Linked DNA regions of Homo sapiens: all the other regions are linked to region 6. Evidence: promoter capture Hi-C in 16 types of primary human blood cells and fetal thymus (Javierre and others, 2016). All regions are on one chromosome and are shown on one strand. Each heading gives the region's core, a stretch centred on a gene start or on the middle of the fragment in contact. The rest is flanking DNA. Distances are from core to core; before and after follow the strand shown.

Region 1 (2,700 bases), core at 141-2,640, 570 kb before region 6:
AAGTCTCTCTATTGCAAAAGCCTGACAGAGTCATGTCCGAAGAGCCTAAAAAATGGTCACTAGATTTAAGAAAAGTGGTAGATCATATGATGTTTGGCTAATCTAAGTAACAATTTGTGTGTGTGTGTGTGTGTGTGTGTGTGTGTGTGTGCATGTGAGAAATCCTCAGAAGCAGCAATTATAAAAGCAAAAGTTTTAAAATGCAATTATGGGCACATGCATTTCTAGAGTAATTATGTCTTCTATTTATATGAAAATCTAAACTTACATGAGCCAGGTTAACAATATGTTTAGTAAATTTTCAAAAATTTTATAGAGAAAAATACGTGGGAAAATTCTTGTACTTTCTATTTTGTAAGTTTAGCATGGTATATTTAAACTTTTGCTTCACTATTTTGTCACCTAAAAAATAAGTCAATTATGCATTAATTTTATCTAGTACAAATTAGTTTATAAATATGTGTGGGAGCATATACATACACATATGTATAAATAGCCACATCACACTTGCTATGAATTACCCTTTCCCTGTTTCATAAAAATTATTGTCTCATACTGTGTAAAATCCAGCTGGAAAGTCAGTCTGAGATTTCAGTGACCAGGTAATCTCAACAGAGTATCACCCGGAGACAGTGAGTAACTTTGTGCCAAAAATAGCACTTGATCTCCTGCATCTGCGTCCATCACCTTTGTCCCTGGCTATTATTAACCCATTTATGCCAGAGGTTGCCATTTTTTGAACTTTTACATGAGTGAAAAAATCAGACCTTGGTAATAACCTTGAGCAGCAGGATATAAAAAACTCTCACATTCTTAGCACTCCAATAATGGAACACTAGGCATAAGTGGGTCAGTTCTTCCTAAACTTTACCTTATCACTTATTTTCTTTCCACTGAATGTGAACCTAAGTTGGTAAATGACTAAGTTGCCATGTTTAGTGGTAGATACAGACTTTGGGTTGTTAACTAGATGTATGGGGAGCTGGTTTTTTTTTTTTTTTTTTTTTTTTTTATTATACTCTAAGTTTTAGGGTACATGTGCACATTGTGCAGGTTAGTTACATATGTATACATGTGCCATGCTGGTGCGCTGCACCCACTAATGTGTCATCTAGCATTAGGTATATCTCCCAATGCTATCCCTTCCCCCTCCCCCGACCCCACCACAGTCCCCAGAGTGTGATATTCCCCTTCCTGTGTCCATGTGATCTCATTGTTCAATTCCCACCTATGAGTGAGAATATGCGGTGTTTGGTTTTTTGTTCTTGCGATAGTTTACTGAGAATGATGGTTTCCAATTTCATCCATGTCCCTACAAAGGATATGAACTCATCATTTTTTATGGCTGCATAGTATTCCATGGTGTATATGTGCCACATTTTCTTAATCCAGTCTATCATTGTTGGACATTTGGGTTGGTTCCAAGTCTTTGCTATTGTGAATAGTGCCGCAATAAACATACGTGTGCATGTGTCTTTATAGCAGCATGATTTATACTCATTTGGGTATATACCCAGTAATGGGATGGCTGGGTCAAATGGTATTTCTAGTTCTAGATCCCTGAGGAATCGCCACACTGACTTCCACAATGGTTGAACTAGTTTACAGTCCCACCAACAGTGTAAAAGTGTTCCTATTTCTCCGCATCCTCTCCAGCACCTGTTGTTTCCTGACTTTTTAATGATTGCCATTCTAAATGGTGTGAGATGATATCTCATAGTGGTTTTGATTTGCATTTCTCTGATGGCCAGTGATGATGAGCATTTCTTCATGTGTTTTTTGGCTGCATAAATGTCTTCTTTTGAGAAGTGTCTGTTCATGTCCTTCGCCCACTTTTTGATGGGGTTGTTTGTTTTTTTCTTGTAAATTTGTTTGAGTTCATTGTAGATTCTGGATATTAGCCCTTTGTCAGATGAGTAGGTTGCAAAAATTTTCTCCCATGTTGTAGGTTGCCTGTTCACTCTGATGGTAGTTTCTTTTGCTGTGCAGAAGCTCTTTAGTTTAATTAGATCCCATTTGTCAATTTTGTCTTTTTAATCAAGGAAGGGGACTGGTATTTCATAAATATGACTGGTATTAATTTAAGCTAAAGGCTGGTAAATAATACTAGTAGGTGCTATGTAAATATTTGCTATATGCCATGTACTGTCATAAGTGTCCTGCCTGTATCAACTAATTTAATACCTCAACTATGAGGTAGATAATATTACCGCCATCTGAAGATGAGGAAATAGAAGAACAGAGAGAGTAAGTAAGTAAGTTGAGCAAGGACGTGCAGCAAATAAATAGTGGATCTTGAAATTAAACACAAGCAGATCAACTCTAGAATCCATGCTCTTAACTACACTACACTGTCTCTCAAAATGAAACATCCGTGGAGGTTTTCAGCATAAAAGCTGTCAGAGAAAGTTCTTGGTGGATTTACAGCTCAAAAATATTATCGCAAATTAAATTTTTGACACCCCTCACCATCCAATCTCCAATACCTAGGCACCACCTCAGTCTTCTTGACATTCGGGATGCCTCTGGACCCAAATAGGGACCAATTCAGAAACAGGCCGTACCCTCCTTTACCCAAGAAACACCTGTAGCCCTAAGTGAATCCACATGTTTCCTGTGATTATGGAATTCAATTCCAGGTTTTCTCTCCTATTTATTTTTCTATAATCCAATTCAATTTTAAAAGGTAAAATGGGACTG
Region 2 (2,700 bases), core at 75-2,574, 590 kb before region 6:
GCTATTTTTCTTAGTAACTGAGTTTTAAATCTGAGAAGAAAAATGTAAATTATAACTTTTTGGGAAACTATATGCTTGTATTCCACAATCTAACTTTTAAGGAAAATAAACTATTTGATAGTTTGGTGCTAAGTATCTCTACTAATGAAAAACAAGAGTATTACCACTAACTGGCAATACTGTACTTGTATATTTACTCTTTTATGTGAAAAGATGGAAGAATGATAACTAACATAAAGTTGCCTTGATCTAGTAATAACAGTAATCTGATTACTATCAGAGTTAGAAACAATATTTAAATGGAACTCTTTTTCTGGGGTCCTAATGATAACATCTGATGACAGAGTATAACCATCAACTTCATAACACAATGCAAGCAAAGATTGGAGACTGATATATTAGTTTGAAACAATGTTATTTATCCATGTTAAACAAAGACATGACTGCATCATTTTTAACACATATTTGCTATTTCACATGAGTCTGAAATTCAATTTATTAGGCTTCAAAATGATATTTTTTCTAATAGATGGTGTTGACCATTTTATTTAAAAAAGTAAGAATACATTTGGTTATATTCAAAGAATATATTTTGGTTGTAATTCAAATAAGATTTAGAAAGGAAAAGATTTATATTTATACGTTTCTTCAGAACTGCCCATCAATTTGAAACTGTCTTCTTTAATAAATGCTAATGATTTGGTTGATTACGTTTGTGCATGTACTTACCATGCAGTTTTGGGAATCAACACACTGATGAATCTCTATCAAGAAGAGAAATTATATCATTAGCTCATTTGCTTTCTAAGCAGCAGGAGTGAAAATTCTATCCAAAATAATATTAATGATACTGTTTTAACATCCACACAGAAAAGCATGTACGATTTCTTATCAGTGTTTTGTAGATATGGTTCATATTTATTGGCTATTATCTCTTCCTTCTGTGTAGGAATACAACTGGGTACATATTTTAAACCAGAAAATCAAAACCAAAACCAAAAACAAACTAAAATGCCAACTTAAAACTGAAGTGTCTCATCCAAGTTTGAGAAGGGAGCAAGCCTATTTGTGCCCCTTGCATAGGAAAATAGTAAGATGACATGAGTTCAGGGCAATTTCTCTGTGTTATCTTTCTGTTTATATTAGAGGATTTTTTACTAACTGGTCAAAATGCACATTATTGTTACATTTTTCCCACCATAACTTATGTAGCCACTGTTATACTAACTAGTAAGGTTGTTAGCCAGAGGAACAAGGCCCAGAAAACAGGGCCGAGCATTCCAGGGCCAGTAAGTCCTTGTCCTGTATAGATTAGAGCAGTGGAGCCCCATGTGTGTTAAACTGAGAACTTGAGCCTTGCTGAATTTAACATTAACATGTTTTGTTGGTCTTTTTAGTAGGGTAGCTGAGGGCTTTGCTGTGTTTATAAAGCACTCAGAATTGTAAGACTTAGGCCACAACATTTAGAACACACACACATTCATGACTTGACTTTTAAAGTCAGTTTAATATTTTCACTTTTATTAAGAAGGAAATCATCAACAGCACTGTTTTGATTACATTTTCTTCATTTTCTTCTACCCAAATAACGAACGGGAAATTTCTAGACCTATAAGAATACACATGTACATATCTTTGAATAGATAAAATTATAAATATAAACATATTTATTTAAGTAGTTATATATAAACTATATAAATATATATAAACAGTATAGATATACAAAATAGTATAATAATTTATTCTCAACTATAGGAAGATATGTAGATAGATACAGATAGATATATATCTATATACATATAGATATTTATATGACGTCAGTCTCAAGCAGAAGAAAGGAAAGCCAGTAGTAGGTGCTCTAGTTGAAGACACAAAATGACATGTGACTGAAGCATTAATTCTAGAGGACATATATAGATATTTACATCTATAGGTGGATAGATAGATATAGGTATAATTGCTTTCCTCTCAGATTTTAAATTGTATATACATCATTGCTACTTAGAGAACTATTAACAGTTCATAACTACAAATTCTTTCAATTAAGAATAGAAAATGTGTGTGTACTTATATGGTATATGTATTTGCGTACATATGCATGACCAAAAGTGTTTGATAGTAAAAATGCATGATTGACATATATAGACATCAAGAAATGACGAAATCAAAGTAGAAGATAGAAAACATCCCCAAAGCATAGGATCAAATAAAAATTATTCTTACTTTTGGTATCACCTGACAGTCTCTATACTTAAATAAAAACATAGGTTTAATTTTTATATTTAAATACTTAGTCTGATCCTTTTCATAGTTTGTAGAAGAGACCATTCCAGGAATAAATAGAAAGACTTACTAATATTTCAGTAATTTTGAGATCACTTGGAAGATTTTACTTTAATCATGAAAAAAACACATATTCTATGACAATTACAATGACATAAGAGAATTAAATTAATGTGTATTTAAATCTCTGCCTTAAGAGTTCCTTTTAAATACTAGTTACTTAAAAGTAAATTGGAGCAAGATTTTATACAAGTAATATATACTTTGTGTTACCCATTGTTACTGTAAATAATTTTAAATAATCATTCAAAATCTTTTTTAAATACTCTCATTTCTAAATATACTGAAAATTGTTAAGTATAATGATACTCATCTAGGTAGCTGTAAGAAAACAATAAAAATTCTTATTTTTATTTC
Region 3 (2,700 bases), core at 48-2,547, 630 kb before region 6:
TATAAGCTTTCCTATGGTATTTATTAACTACATTCTCATCATGGAACCCAGCTTTAATTGAGAGTAAATTCTTGCTACATTCTTAAATACTAATTAGTTCTCACTCTATTAATTGTCACAAACAGACCATGGCTTCTACCAAACTTATTCCACAATAGTTAGTTCTTATTAATTATAGTAACAAAAGTATTATATATGGTAAATTTCTGGGAACAATCAGAAGTATATGCATGCCCAAATCTAAGAGAAACAGTTATTTTTTAGCTTGTTCCCTACAATACTTTGCAAAATTCTCACCGTGAAATATTTTTGAATGTAAATAACCTATTTTTTATTTATTTGATTTCTGTGAGTATCATTCTACCTCCGATCTTCATGATTCTTGACTCTGTAGAAAAAAAAAGATCTTGTCTTTAAGATAACTGTATTTTTACTTAATCAAAACAATAGCAATTTATAATTTATAAGGTATAGCATAGTGTTAAAAGAATTTTATCTCCTTGGCTCTTCTTAAATATCGTTTACAAATTCAAATATGCAAGTCCAAATATGGCCATTTATGTTGCCTCCCAAAACCCATGACATCTCTTCCCTCTCAGGGTTAATGGGTCAAAGATGATTCTGACGTGAATACATTGTGCTTTGTATAGTCTTTGATATTATACTTGTGACTCACTTTTTAAATATGAAAAGAATAATTTATTTAAGGCAATATGTTCAGAGCAAACAGAAAATCTAGTAAAGCTGAGATACAGTGTTTTGTGTTGTTGGAAAAACAGTCTACTGAGTAATAAGAACGTATACCCTATTACTCAAAATCAAAACATAGGCAATAACACATTGCTGGCATAGCCAATGACACAAAATTCTATTTGCTACACAGCGTCTCTCATCAGCGGGCTAGCAGTGGGCTACCATTTTCACTAGGAAGCTGTTTAGACAGCTTTCGGATACTAAAGAGAACTAAATATGAGTCAAAATAATACTTTTAGAAGTCAATGCATAGCGACCAAAAAAGGTATTCCAAGTAAATATTTCAGTAGAAAAAATAGATTGACAAGTAGGTAACTTAGTAAATTATTGAAGTAAAATTTCTGCTTTAATATGTAGGATTTACCTCAACAATATTTTATATAAGATTATGATTGTGTTATAATTGAAAAGAAATGAGAAGTTTGGCTTTGTTTTTGATTCCTGGGATGGTAGGTCAGGATTTTTCTTTGCAATTAGGACAGTTGTATCTCTATAAATTGTAAATTTATTGCATCAAAAAAAAACTGTCTACCCCTAAAGTTGTGATTATAAATATGCCTTCCTTTCTACCTTATTTCAGCCATAATCATTCCTTGAATTTTCATCCAAGTGAAGTATCTAATTAATTATTTTTTTTTTACTTTTTAATAAAGAAGTTCCTGGAAGTGACTCACTGTAGTACTACATAGTTAAAGCACATCTTAATTAAAGGATGGAAAAAGAATCACTAAGACCTTACTGGGAAATTTTATAAGGATGACAGACATGAAAGAGCTAAAGGTAACAGATGTTTTAACCAAAGTAATATAAAGCCCAGATGTTTGGCACATTCACATAGTATTAACTGCTTAAGTAAGAGTCATACTTTCCTTTTTTGAATAATCGTTATGTTTCCCCTATTTAAAAATTCTTTTAAAATAAGGAGTGTTGGTAAAAGCAAGGCAGAAATGGAGAGAAAAAACAATCAACAACACTACAATGAAAAAATTCATTCTCTCCCATGATGTCCTACAACTGTGTCGTGAATTCAAGAGAGCAAATAGATGTTTATATTTAAGTAATAAATATTTTTAAAAAGCATCACTTAAAATGATATATCATGAATGGAAATAAATATTTTACTTGTTTGGTAGTTATTTTAGACATATGTTGGGACAAGGCTAGCTCAGTTAATTGTCCTCTAGAATTTATTCATTTTTATGTTCCTAGACAGGAGAAAACAAGTTTTGGAATCACTTAAAAATATTTCATGTTTCCCAGTAATAGAACAACAAAAGCCATACTTTCATGAGAGAATATATGAATGTACATAAATAAGTAATTCTATAAGGCAAAAGCTCTGGCTGTCTTATAACATGTTCAACTGATGTAAAAGAAATTGGGTTTTATTAAGAACTTTAAAATATTTAAAATATTTTCCCTTCAATTCTCTAGGAAATTTGTATTTATATGATTTTCACAATATCCGTTGTAGAATAAGAGAAAGTACAGCAGTATTTTAGATTTCTCAACCTATTCTTTGTCCAGAAAGTCATTTTTTAACAAAATAGTTTTCAGAAATTTGTTGAATATATGATCCTTGATTTTTAACTAAATGTACTTCCTGTTTTGAAATAAAGCAAAAAGAGAAAGGAAGATATAACCATCAACTATGCAATAAAAAATATGCACTGAAAATACACTTATTTAAATAGACTCAATATAAGGTTCTGAAATAGAATTATATGTTCTTTATGGAAAGAAAATGAAGTTTTTCCCTTAATAGACTATATATCCCAAGATGATTTTAAAGTATTTTCACTTAGAAATGCTAGCTGCTATTACATATGAATTTTCAAAGCTTGCCAAACCTTTGGAAGGAATGATGAAAATTACTATTGCACGACCTTCAAGTTTTCTTTGTTTCATAAAGGGCTAAGATAGCATTTTTGTTATTTTTCTTTCAGC
Region 4 (2,700 bases), core at 62-2,561, 550 kb before region 6:
TCCAATTATTCTACTATTGACCTGATTTTAGAAAATAGAAATTTATGCCACATGTTTTTTACCTTCAAAAATTGTTGTGGGTACATAATAGCTGTACATATGTATGGGGTACATGTGATATTTTGATATAAGCATATAATGCGTAGTGATCAAATCAGGGTAACTGCGACATCTATTACCTCAAATATTTATCATTTCTTTGTATTGGGAACATCCCAAATCCACTCCTCTAGTTATTTTGAAATATACAAGCTGCATGTTTTTTAGTATTAATGCATAGACTACTCCCTGCAAGAGCTGAAGTTTTACCTTTTATTGTCTGCAAGTTAATTCATAAACCCAAATGTAAGCACCAGCAATCAAAAACATGTAGTTGGCAACATATCTTGGAACATATTGATTCTAAAATATCTAGAGAAACACAAAGAATTCATCCATATGTTGCTATTTTTTTCTCAATTCTGACAGATGGCATACTTGAGAATAAATAAAAACAAATGCCTAAAATCAGAAGAGTTCTTATATCTTAATTGCAGCTAACAATATAAATGTAAAATATTAATTTATTTAGATTTAAATTGAGATGCAAGGAAAATACAACGGATTGTCACTGATTATGAAAAGTGGGGGAAACAAGCAAAGTGAAGATTGCAGCACTTTAAGATTCACATTTACCTTCCCCTTCAATGGAAAATATGTCAATAGTTTTGTGTTGGACTCAGACTAGCCACTCTGGTAAGTCATGTTTGAAAAGCTTCATTGAGATGCCACTTCCACTTCTCTGAAAACAACTTTGTAAAATACTTTTGCCTTCTATGCTATTTATTACCAGAGATTTTTTATTTCTCTTACCAAATTTTTATTTAATATTATTTTATTGTCCCAATGATCACATACTAAGATAAAATATACATAAATATAATGACTAGCAAAGCAATTGATATTTGTGTATTATGTGAGCCCTACTTGAGAGGTAGGACATTTTTCAAATGACTTGAAAATGTTTTAAAATGATTATTTCTAATAACTATGTTGAAAGTGTTGGTACCCGTTACACATAAACAGACGAAGATGAACTCCGAAAGTAGCAACTGGAAAACCAAATACAGCCTATATGCTTGTGAAAGCAGGCAGAAAGGCTATCAAACAGGGCAGAAATAAGGAGTAACTACTGCCAAGATCTCTCACCCTTTCAACCTGTTCTTTCTTTCCAGAACCACAATCAGCCCTTCCCTTCTTGCCACATTAGAAACTGAAAGAGAAAATGTTGGCAGACTACAGTGAACAGAGGTGGCATCTGTGCTCAGTGAGGAGGGAGGGAAGTGGTATCTGTGGTCAACACTGCCTCTATCTGAGGCATCACTGAATTCTGAGTCCATAGGGTTGGCTGCAGCAATTTACTGCTTTGAACAGGAGTGCAGGGGTTTGGGGCTTGCAGGAAATAACCATAAGAATGAACATACATATTCTATATGATATCACAGGCATTATTATATTATCTATACCTTATATTGTATATACTATCACAGACATATATTACACATATAGAGAATATATATTTTTATGAGTGAATAATATATATTACACATAATAGAAATAAATATATTAATGCTAAGTGACCAAAGATCCAAATTTTGGAAATTAAAACGTATGGTTTATTCCATAGACTAGATGGATTGGGGATGTCAAAATAAGTGCTTAAGTAAAAGTGCTTAATATCAAATAAAACTGACTTTCTGTAAGTCATCCATATTTACCAAGGAACAGATTATTTGTCTAAATTCCTGGAGTAATACCATGGAATTAATATATAAGTACCTTCTCAGAAATTTTACGACTTATTTTTTCCAACATCACTACATAACAAAATAAGCTTTATTTTATAAGTAGAAAATTCTAGCTTGAGACATTTTATATCTTTCAAAAGCAGCCATGGACAAACACGTGGTAAATCTTTGGGAGGGGAGAAGATGGAGAAGGATGTAAATCAAAGCACTTTGACAATCACTGTCTTCAGACTTTCTAAATTATAGTGGTAACTCAATTGTTGAGAGGAGTGGGCAATAAAGAAATTACCTGGGAACTCTTCTCAAATTATAGGCATGCTGCCATTGTCCACATCCTCCCACATCATTCCCCCAGGAAAATATTGTTAATAAAAAGTATGTCACACATCACCCAGGTGTTTGCTGGGGGCTGGGGGTGTAGGGAACAGGGTAGTAGCTATTGAGAAACCCCAGCAAATCACACTGCAATTCCAAAGACTGTGATTTGCAGGTAAAGGCCATCTTGAAACTTAAACTCTAGGGCAGGGCTTCCTAACCTTGCACTACTGACATTTTAGATGGAATAATTTGTTGTTGTAGGGAGCTGTCCTGTGTGTTGTAAGCTATTTAGCAACATCCCAGCCTTCCACCCTCTAGACGCCAGTAGCCCCCTGCCCTCCGCACACAGTCAAGACAATAAAAAATGTCTCCAGACATTGCCAATGTTCTGCTTGGGGGTGTGGGGTGAGGAAGGGATTGCCCTCTGTTGGGAATCACTGAGCTGAAAGTATGTGTGGTATAAACAGGGAGAGAAGTGTTGATTTAAATCAAGCAGGAGACATCTTAATAAGATATATATTCATCACAATTGTGAACAAGATAATAATTGGGGTGTCATATTCAGGAATAAAAGGTTTAAAAAAAACAGCAGCAG
Region 5 (2,700 bases), core at 55-2,554, 650 kb before region 6:
TTATGGTATTATATAAGAAATGTACTTTAGTGGGGTGGGGGGAGGGGGGAGGGATAGCATTAGGAGATATACCTAATACTAAATGATGAGTTAATGGTTGCAGTACACCAACATGGCACATGTATACATATGTAACAAACTTGCACGTTGTGCACATGTACCCTAAAACTTAAAGTATAATAATAATAAAATTAAAAAAATAAAATAAAATAAGAAAAGCAACATATATACTAGATAGGCATAAATTTGTACCTGTTTTAAAATGGCTTTTTAGATTCTTTGACACTAAAAAATAAAACACTAATGACAAGCAAAAAAAAAAAAAAAAAAAATGAGAACCAGAGGGCTGATTAAAAGTTTCACATACTGGGGGGAGATTAACTTATGAAAGCCATTGTATGGGTGATAAGGTAGAAATACAGCTGTTTTGTTGAGAGGATTTCAAAAAAAAATGTACTTTAAATTTGTCTCTTTCTGGGGTCATAATTCTTAGTAAATAATTTAGTGTTATGTAATCTAGAGGCTTCCTTATATAAATCATTGCAAAATGTTCATTTGCATTAGGCAATCCAGAAAATATTTAAGACAAGAGAAAACAGATTTTCTAAAATTTTTTTATCAAGCAATATTTTTAGAAAGCTTATATTCACTTGTATGCCATTAAAATTATTTATAGATGCATAATTAAAATAGAAAGATATTTGAGATTGACAATGAAATTGTATTCTAAATCTCAAATCCTATCTATATATTGAGTACAAAGATAGCTATAATAGAATCACACATATTCTATATATATAACCTATGACTTCAATTGAGATATATTGGACATCTTATTTCTGGATACAGAATTTAGGAGCAAAATACACCATAGTATCAGTGAACAAATACAGCAGGAATAGAAAAGGTGCCTGTAAAATTACAGCTATCACCCTTTCCATTTATATCCCTTTCTGGACGGATCTTTAGTCAGTGGTTCATAATTTCACTGGGATTAATTTGCCAGCATTCTGAAGACATTTATCTTATTTTCTGGAATTCAGAAAGGGATCAGCCTCCACACAATCTATTTCACTTATCTTTCAGAACAGCAGCACATGATGAAAGGAGATTCATGTTGAATGAATATATTTGTCATTGTCCGTGGTGCCTAGATTATATGAATATGACCCAGACTTTTTTTTTCTGAAAACAATGGGACATACTTGTGCATAAATAAATCCTATGCAATATAAGAACTATCATTCTTATTAGTTCTCATTTTTAGTCATGATTGATATCCTTACCTTGATCATAAGTTATTTGCCTTATATGAAGAATATTTTCTTAATTCTGAAAGAAAAAATGGAGTTCTCTATAAGCATTTATATAATAAGCCATTAAGTGATCTATTTTAATACACTTATTTTTGAAAAGATTTCAATTGTAACTTGCCTTGCTAATAAAGCATCTGAATGTCAAAACACATTAATGTTATTTTTTTTTCAGCTGTATACACACACATAATTTAAATAGCAGAGAACTTGAGGTAACATAAATATTTCTAAATATTTCTGTCCTTCCTTTTACATAAATGAACTTGGTTTCTTTGGGTTTTCCTCATTTTGTAGATGAGATGGAAGAGAGAAAGTAAGAGACAAGCAGACCCAATAGAACATAAATCAAAGTGCTAAACTTGCAAAATCTTGATAGATGCAACTTCTCTAGTAGTGACAATATAGAGGACACATTTCACTTTTAAACTTTTTTCCATTAGTTTTTTGACAGGAGTACACTAGTTCAGCTTTAATGAGATTCTAGTGTAAAAACTTCAGGGCTAAATAAAAGAAACAAATCAAAAGGACCGAATGATTGCCATTTAATGTGAAAGAATGAAAGTGCAAACAATCATTGTATGACATCTAGCTGGGCTAGTCACTGCAGAATGACAGGTAGAACAATTCAAAGTTACTGATCTAAAGATGGAATAAAAGCTTATATGTTTGAAGTGCTCAGAAGATGAAGAAATAAAACAGACTCTGAGATAAGACATGGTTAAACCTTTTAAATTCCATGCCCTATTGTCAGTATCATTTGAATGGTTTGGTACACTATTTTTTCTGAAATCATGTCATTTAAGGAATTAATTTTAGAGCCTATTTTATGCTTTCAGACTTTAGGGTTCAGAGACTTTTTTAAGCTAAATAATAATATCACATATAATATGCTTGCATAATCAAAAATGTATTTTACTGATTTGCCACTTTATGCATTGTAAGAACTCATTGTTAAGGGGCTATATTTGTAGGTAAATTTACACATTCAAGTTCTGCTTTGATTTGAAAGAAGATCAATGACTTTAATACTTAAACATAGTTTTAATTTCATGTTTTCCTTTTACTTATTTATTTAAAAAATAAAGAAAATCACCAATTTTTTCAATAAGCCTTTTTATCAGTGAAATAACCTATTCTAGTTACTGCTGGAAACAATAATCTGTAATTGCTGCTTTCAGTACTAATTTGGCCCATCCCTACTTTTTCATCTCAATCTAATCTAAACCTATTTGAGCAAATAAAATGATATTTACCTCATCCTCTGTTACAAGCTTTCAAGATTACAGGCTTCAGGAAAAATCAATACAAAATACCAGCTTAGCAGCAGGTTTGTGCTCAGTAAGAATGCTAACTTTTCTTCCTAGTATTTCTCACTCTCAGCTAT
Region 6 (2,700 bases), core at 42-2,541:
AAAACCCCAGCTTGAGTACTAACACTAGTTTCTAAAAATAAGGAGAATACGGCCAAGAGGTAAAATTGTACAAAGGCAACTAGAGTCAGGACTAGAATCCAACTGTCTTGATTTAGTCTAATACTCTTCAGTCTACTAGTCTAGTATTCGCTCTATGTCCTGTTACTTCTATTTTTTTTTTTAAGAAAAAAATATGAAGGGTTTTTTTTTTTGACTCTGTAAATAATTCTTTCAAATCTCTTTCTGGCTCAAGATCACTCAACTGTAATCTTTCTGGAAACAAGTAATTGATAATATAGGTGAGATCAGATAAGTTAAAAGAGCCACCCCAAGTTCATTCTGTTCAGGATTAAGTAAAGGTAACACTTTAGGGGAAGGTGTTTAGACTACAAGCTGCGGTGTTGTGAGCGCCCAAGTATCATTTAATTGTCCGAAACGTCAAGATAAAATATTTCCGAGGGGCATCACGGAAGTTTAACAGAATGTGTTAGACTTGAACGTTCAACAGCTTGCTCATTTTGCCAAAAGCCCTTTCACTAAATGTGGGAAATTTGGAAAATGGTACCTCAATAAATAAACAAACAACGATTTTTAATTTAAGAACCCAGGAAAAAATGTTAACAATTCTCACATTCAGATTTCTTATCAAAAGTCAACGTGAAATATAACTAATTTATCGCAAGCAATTTTATCAGAAACTTTTCATTATCTCTTCCTCCATAAGAAAACCAAACTGCATTTACGTGCGCTTTCAACAGTGTTAGAAAACTAAGCACTCAAATTTTTTGTACTACATATAACACTTTACATGAACTTTCAGATATTAAGTAAAGTTTGGATCCTCAATTCTTTATAAAGCCGTTTATAAGAGGTAAATATCTTCACGACCGCCAAATGAGAGAAAAAGATTTCGAAGTTCGTCTCTTAAGTTACTACGTGGAATGCAGAGGGGCTCAACTGCAGCTGTGTGTGTGTTTATTTTTAATGCCGCGATCCTAAAAACATCTTTAGGAGTTTAGGTTTGCTTCACTGCCTTTCCCAAAATTCAGCAGCTTTGATTTGCCTTTTCCAGGGAGACAGGAAGCCAATAAACAGGGAAAAAAAAGCAAACGGCGACAATTACAAGGTCGTGAAACTCCACGACCTCCCAGCTGAAAACAAGACCTCGGGTTTGCACTCCGGCTCTCTAGGGCAGACACTGACCTTAGGAGTCTGCGAAACGCCCACGCTCCACGTAACTTTCTCTGAAACATTCTCTGGAAAGCTTGTCTTTTCCTAGCCGAATCTGGATTACCAAGGCTTCCGGAACTCGCAGGCTTCCGGAGCGACGCAGGAGCCGGAAGTGGCTGAAAAAAAAAAGAAAAAGTTACACCAACGAGAACTGCGCTTTAGCGGCGCTGCTGAAGGCACTGGATGGCCAAACAACCGCGAACGCCGACAAGCCGAAGAGCCGAAGGGCCGAAAAGCCGAAGCGGACACCCGCGCGCGGTGATTGGCCGGTTGGCCGGAAGAACTCTGTCTCTGATTGGCAGGAGAGTCACGAACCGGTCAGCCCCGGGTCAGGGGCCGCAAGTGAGGACACTACAAGTGTCGAGGGGCCTAGGGGAAGCCGGGGCTTGGGAGGGCAGGGCTTTCTCTGCTTGCGGACATCGCGAAGGGCCTCTGGCAGGCGCCGCCGGGTGGCGGCGAGACGCCTCCGCGCCTCCGGGGTTCCTTGTTCGCTGTCGGAGGAGGACCGGCTGAGGGATGGCCTGGTGGGGAGGGAGCCCTCGGGCAGGTGGCTGCGTCGGGCCTGGGGCAGTTGTGCTGCGCTTGGAGACCTGCCCGCCCTCGGGGCCTGTGTGCACAGGGAGGATAGGCTGTTTATCTCTGCAGGCTCAGGAAGGCAGGTAGCTGGCCCGTCAGTCATCCGCCCTGCAAAGCGCTCCCGAGAGACCCCGTAGAGCGGGCCAGCGCGCGCCTGGCCTGAGGTTTCCCGCCCCCGGAGGCCCTCACATCTCCCCGGTAACGCTTAGGAATTCGGGCAGCCAGCTCGCCTACCCCTGGGGAATCGAGGCAGAGCTTCTGGGAATGGGGTCTGAGGGAAGAGTGCTCACCAGGCAGTGACATGTAGCCGTTGAGGATCGCCACTGCCTTCTCGTTCTGTGGTATGAATGGCAGTGTCTCTCTAGAGAGTTAGTGCTTAAGTTTGAATGATGGCAGGCACTTCAGGATTCCAGCACGTAGTAGGGTTTAAGAACGTCTTAGTTCTTACCTCCAGTCTCGACTCACCGTTCCTACAAGGAACACTCACTTCTACGAAAGCTCTATTAGACATTCGAGGGAGAGCTTATACTGTAGAACCAGTGTTATTAGGAAAGTTTTTTTTTTTTTGCTTGTATTTTTATTTCAGAAACTACCCATGGAGCAGAGTTGCTAAAATAAAATTTATTAACTCTAATGCTATCCAAATTGTGAAACAATGGTACAAATGAGATAGAGTAGAAGCTACAAATTGATAGAGTATGTAGTTCACTTAGGGGTTTGGGAGTGGATTTTCTAGAGCTGCAACTGTCCAGTGTAGTAGTCACTGGCCACCTGAAAAGTGGCTAGTCTGAACTGAGGTCTGCTCTAAGTGTAGAACATGCACCAGATTTCTAAAGCGTGGTCTGAAAAGAAAAAGAATGTAAAGTATTTCATTAATTTTATATTGCTTACATG
Region 7 (2,700 bases), core at 124-2,623, 610 kb before region 6:
CATTCTCTCCTTTTACATGTTTGATGGAGTTTTATTTTTTTCTTAATGAAACATGCTAATATGTTAATAGATAAAATAATGTTGTACATAAATTATGTAATATGTAGCTGTATGTATATATACACACGTATGTGTGTATGTATATGTTTGTGTGTATATTTGTGTGTATATGTATGTGTCTGTGTGTGTATATATACACACACTTATATTTCCTATACAAATAGCACACAAGAGCTCCCTTGACATATAGCACTGATGAGGCATTAAAATAGGAAATAGGACTGTGTGCCTTATACTCCAAGATGATAAATCCCCAAATTGGAGAAGACAATATGTTATTAAAAATGCCACTGTCATTATTACTATTTGTTCTGGTGAGAACACTTCACACAGTATCTACATATACTCAGCAAATCTTAAGTATACAACACTGTATTGGTTGTCTAATTATTATTCACAAACTCATCGAGTTATATACATTAAATATGTACCACTTTTTGCATGTCAATTATACTTCAATAAAGTGGTTTAAGAAAAAAATATCTCACTTAAATCCTCATTTTACATCTCTGCTAAAGATGAAAGTTTAAGGACAAATAGAGTTATCTCTCTTGAAAAACCAGTCCATGATATGTGCTGTGAATTTTAGCTTTTCCCTTCTTACACAAAAATATCCATCCTTGTAAAATTATATTTAGAAAATAAAGCCAACCAAAAAGAAGAAAATTTGAATGCCACTGACTCTACTCAGAGTTGTCACAGTGTACTGTCCCTGTCACTTATTGCAAAGATATATAATATTTAGTACACCAAATATGTATTTTGTAATTAGATCTTAATATAGGTTAAATATAGGTTAACATCTTTCCTTGTCAGTATTGTTCTCCATCGTGGTGTTGTACCTTAATTTATTGGATTAACTGTATAATAGTTAAATGCTTACTTCTATGTTTTTCTCTATTATAAACAACACTGTGATGAATATTTCCCCTAATTAAATCACACATCCTTGCTGAATTCCATAAATTAGATTTCTGCAATTGAAATTACAGGACAGGACAGGTGCAGTGGTTCATGCCTGTAATCCCAGGAATTTGTGAGGCTAAGGTGGGTGGATCGCTTGAGCCCAGAAGTTTGAGACCAGCCTGGGTGACATGGTGAGACCCTGTCTCCAAAAAACAATTAGAAAGAAATTGTGGGACGAATAGTTAAGCCCATTTTAGAGACTTTAACATACTTAAAAATTGTCCTCCAAAAAGATTGTGTTAGAGTACATCATCAGCACGGCGTATGAGTGTCTATGTCTGAACCTTCTCTGGGTTAGTGCACACTTGCAGGTGGTGTTGGTCTGTTGAAACAGCTAGAAGCCATATCTTAAAACAAATCTGATGAATCAAGAATGTGTTGAACCCAGTTAGACTCGGTTTCCTCTTGCAGAATCTGCCTGTGTTTTTCAAACACCAAAACATTTAGTCAGCTTAAAAAATTCAGTAAACAAATCAAATTTATTATTGATTTACTTTATAGAAATAAATTCAACTGATGTGATAATAAAGATATATTTAATAACAAAGATAATTAATGTTAATAATAAATATTTGATAATAAAGAATATTTGCAAAACTACAAGTTTAAAACTTGGATAAACTTATAAACCGTGGCAAATAATTTGCCATTTTATTTAAAAATATCACTATTTTCTCATAAAGAAAGGCTACCCTTCTACTCTAATCTTAATCCTGATAGGCAAATTGCCACCCTGGTTGAAAACTGTATAGTAGCTGTGATTCACTGTCCATAGCCACCTGTGATCAAAAACAAAGCATTCGATGGTGTTAATAATCCCCACATTGAAAGTTGCTTGACTTCCATAGCATCAGTTGAAATAACTATGTCTGCAGAAATTAACTTTAAAAATGATAGAAGTTTATTGAAAAAATGTCCATCTGCCTTCTTTATGAGATCAGAGATTAACCACTTACTAATTTAATCAGCCTTTAATTTACTCTTTAAAAATATCTGGAAAAATATTTTAGTATGTCATATAGAAAGAATGACAGTATCTGCAATATCTGAATCTGTGTGATGATTCTTTCAGGATTGGTTTAATATGATTCAGGGTGGTCAATTAAATAAGCTCTTCTGTTGTTCTGGCTGAATAGTGATTTGATTTTCCAAGCCTACTAATCCATTATTTTAATTAGCATTAAATTCGTAAAAAAACTAAATAGGTTTTAAAGGATCTTAAAAACCCTGAAATAAATACCACAAATGCAATTATCAGAAGGAAAGACAATAATAACTCTCATTTGGGTAATAAAGTAGAACTGCTTTCATGGAAAATAATTAGAGCAATAAACACACACTTTAGACATATTTAGAAGTGTTTGAATGCCACATGGATTACTGCCACCTTTGGGAAGAAACTTGGAATGTAGTTGACAAGAAAGACTTGATTTTCTGATTTATTTATTCAGTCCATGCCACAGAGTTCATGCAGAAGCAGTAATGTAGCATAATTTAGAAAATTCAAAAGACTCTCAAAGCCAAACACACACACACACACACACACACACACACACACACACACACACACACAAATAACTAAATGCCACCTGTATTTTGGGAGATTGGGAGAGAGATTCAAGGGAAATTTTCAAAATCCAAAGAAGTTTATTAAGTCATTCTGATGTTAGAGGA

What was found. Contacts are between HindIII fragments. The CHiCAGO score rates a contact against its expected background, and 5 or more counts as called.
Region 1: a fragment that was not itself captured here is called in contact with the fragment with the promoter of PEX2 in region 6 in 2 of 17 cell types (M2 macrophages and M1 macrophages); the score reaches 6.1 in M2 macrophages.
Region 2: a contact is called between a fragment that was not itself captured here and the fragment with the promoter of PEX2 in region 6, in 1 of 17 cell types (M2 macrophages). The highest score is 6.3, in M2 macrophages.
Region 3: a contact is called between a fragment that was not itself captured here and the fragment with the promoter of PEX2 in region 6, in 5 of 17 cell types (M2 macrophages, M1 macrophages, M0 macrophages and 2 more). The highest score is 13.0, in M2 macrophages.
Region 4: a fragment that was not itself captured here is called in contact with the fragment with the promoter of PEX2 in region 6 in 1 of 17 cell types (M2 macrophages); the score reaches 6.0 in M2 macrophages.
Region 5: a contact is called between a fragment that was not itself captured here and the fragment with the promoter of PEX2 in region 6, in 2 of 17 cell types (M2 macrophages and M0 macrophages). The highest score is 6.4, in M2 macrophages.
Region 7: a fragment that was not itself captured here is called in contact with the fragment with the promoter of PEX2 in region 6 in 1 of 17 cell types (M0 macrophages); the score reaches 5.6 in M0 macrophages.

Annotation. Positions count from the first base shown.
Region 1 is chr8:76,424,161-76,426,860 of GRCh38, forward strand. The region is part of intron 1 of LINC01111 (long intergenic non-protein coding RNA 1111); the gene reads left to right. Among named protein-coding and RNA genes, the nearest start is that of LINC01111, 19 kb to the left of the region's middle. The HindIII fragment of the contact is 5,584 bases long and covers 1-2,700 here.
Region 2 is chr8:76,407,012-76,409,711 of GRCh38, forward strand. The region is part of intron 1 of LINC01111 (long intergenic non-protein coding RNA 1111); the gene reads left to right. Among named protein-coding and RNA genes, the nearest start is that of LINC01111, 1.7 kb to the left of the region's middle. The HindIII fragment of the contact is 4,473 bases long and covers 1-2,700 here.
Region 3 is chr8:76,368,169-76,370,868 of GRCh38, forward strand. No RefSeq gene overlaps it. Among named protein-coding and RNA genes, the nearest start is that of LINC01109, 35 kb to the right of the region's middle. The HindIII fragment of the contact is 2,587 bases long and covers 5-2,591 here.
Region 4 is chr8:76,453,647-76,456,346 of GRCh38, forward strand. All of the region lies in intron 2 of LINC01111 (long intergenic non-protein coding RNA 1111), which reads left to right. Among named protein-coding and RNA genes, the nearest start is that of LINC01111, 48 kb to the left of the region's middle. The HindIII fragment of the contact is 1,119 bases long and covers 753-1,871 here.
Region 5 is chr8:76,350,766-76,353,465 of GRCh38, forward strand. No RefSeq gene overlaps it. Among named protein-coding and RNA genes, the nearest start is that of LINC01109, 52 kb to the right of the region's middle. The HindIII fragment of the contact is 1,334 bases long and covers 638-1,971 here.
Region 6 is chr8:76,998,787-77,001,486 of GRCh38, forward strand. PEX2 (peroxisomal biogenesis factor 2) reads right to left here and starts at 1,292. Exons shown (of 4, transcript NM_000318.3): 1 at 1,204-1,292. RefSeq lists an enhancer at 1,287-1,581. The HindIII fragment of the contact is 1,935 bases long and covers 1,263-2,700 here.
Region 7 is chr8:76,384,550-76,387,249 of GRCh38, forward strand. No RefSeq gene overlaps it. Among named protein-coding and RNA genes, the nearest start is that of LINC01109, 18 kb to the right of the region's middle. The HindIII fragment of the contact is 3,641 bases long and covers 1-2,700 here.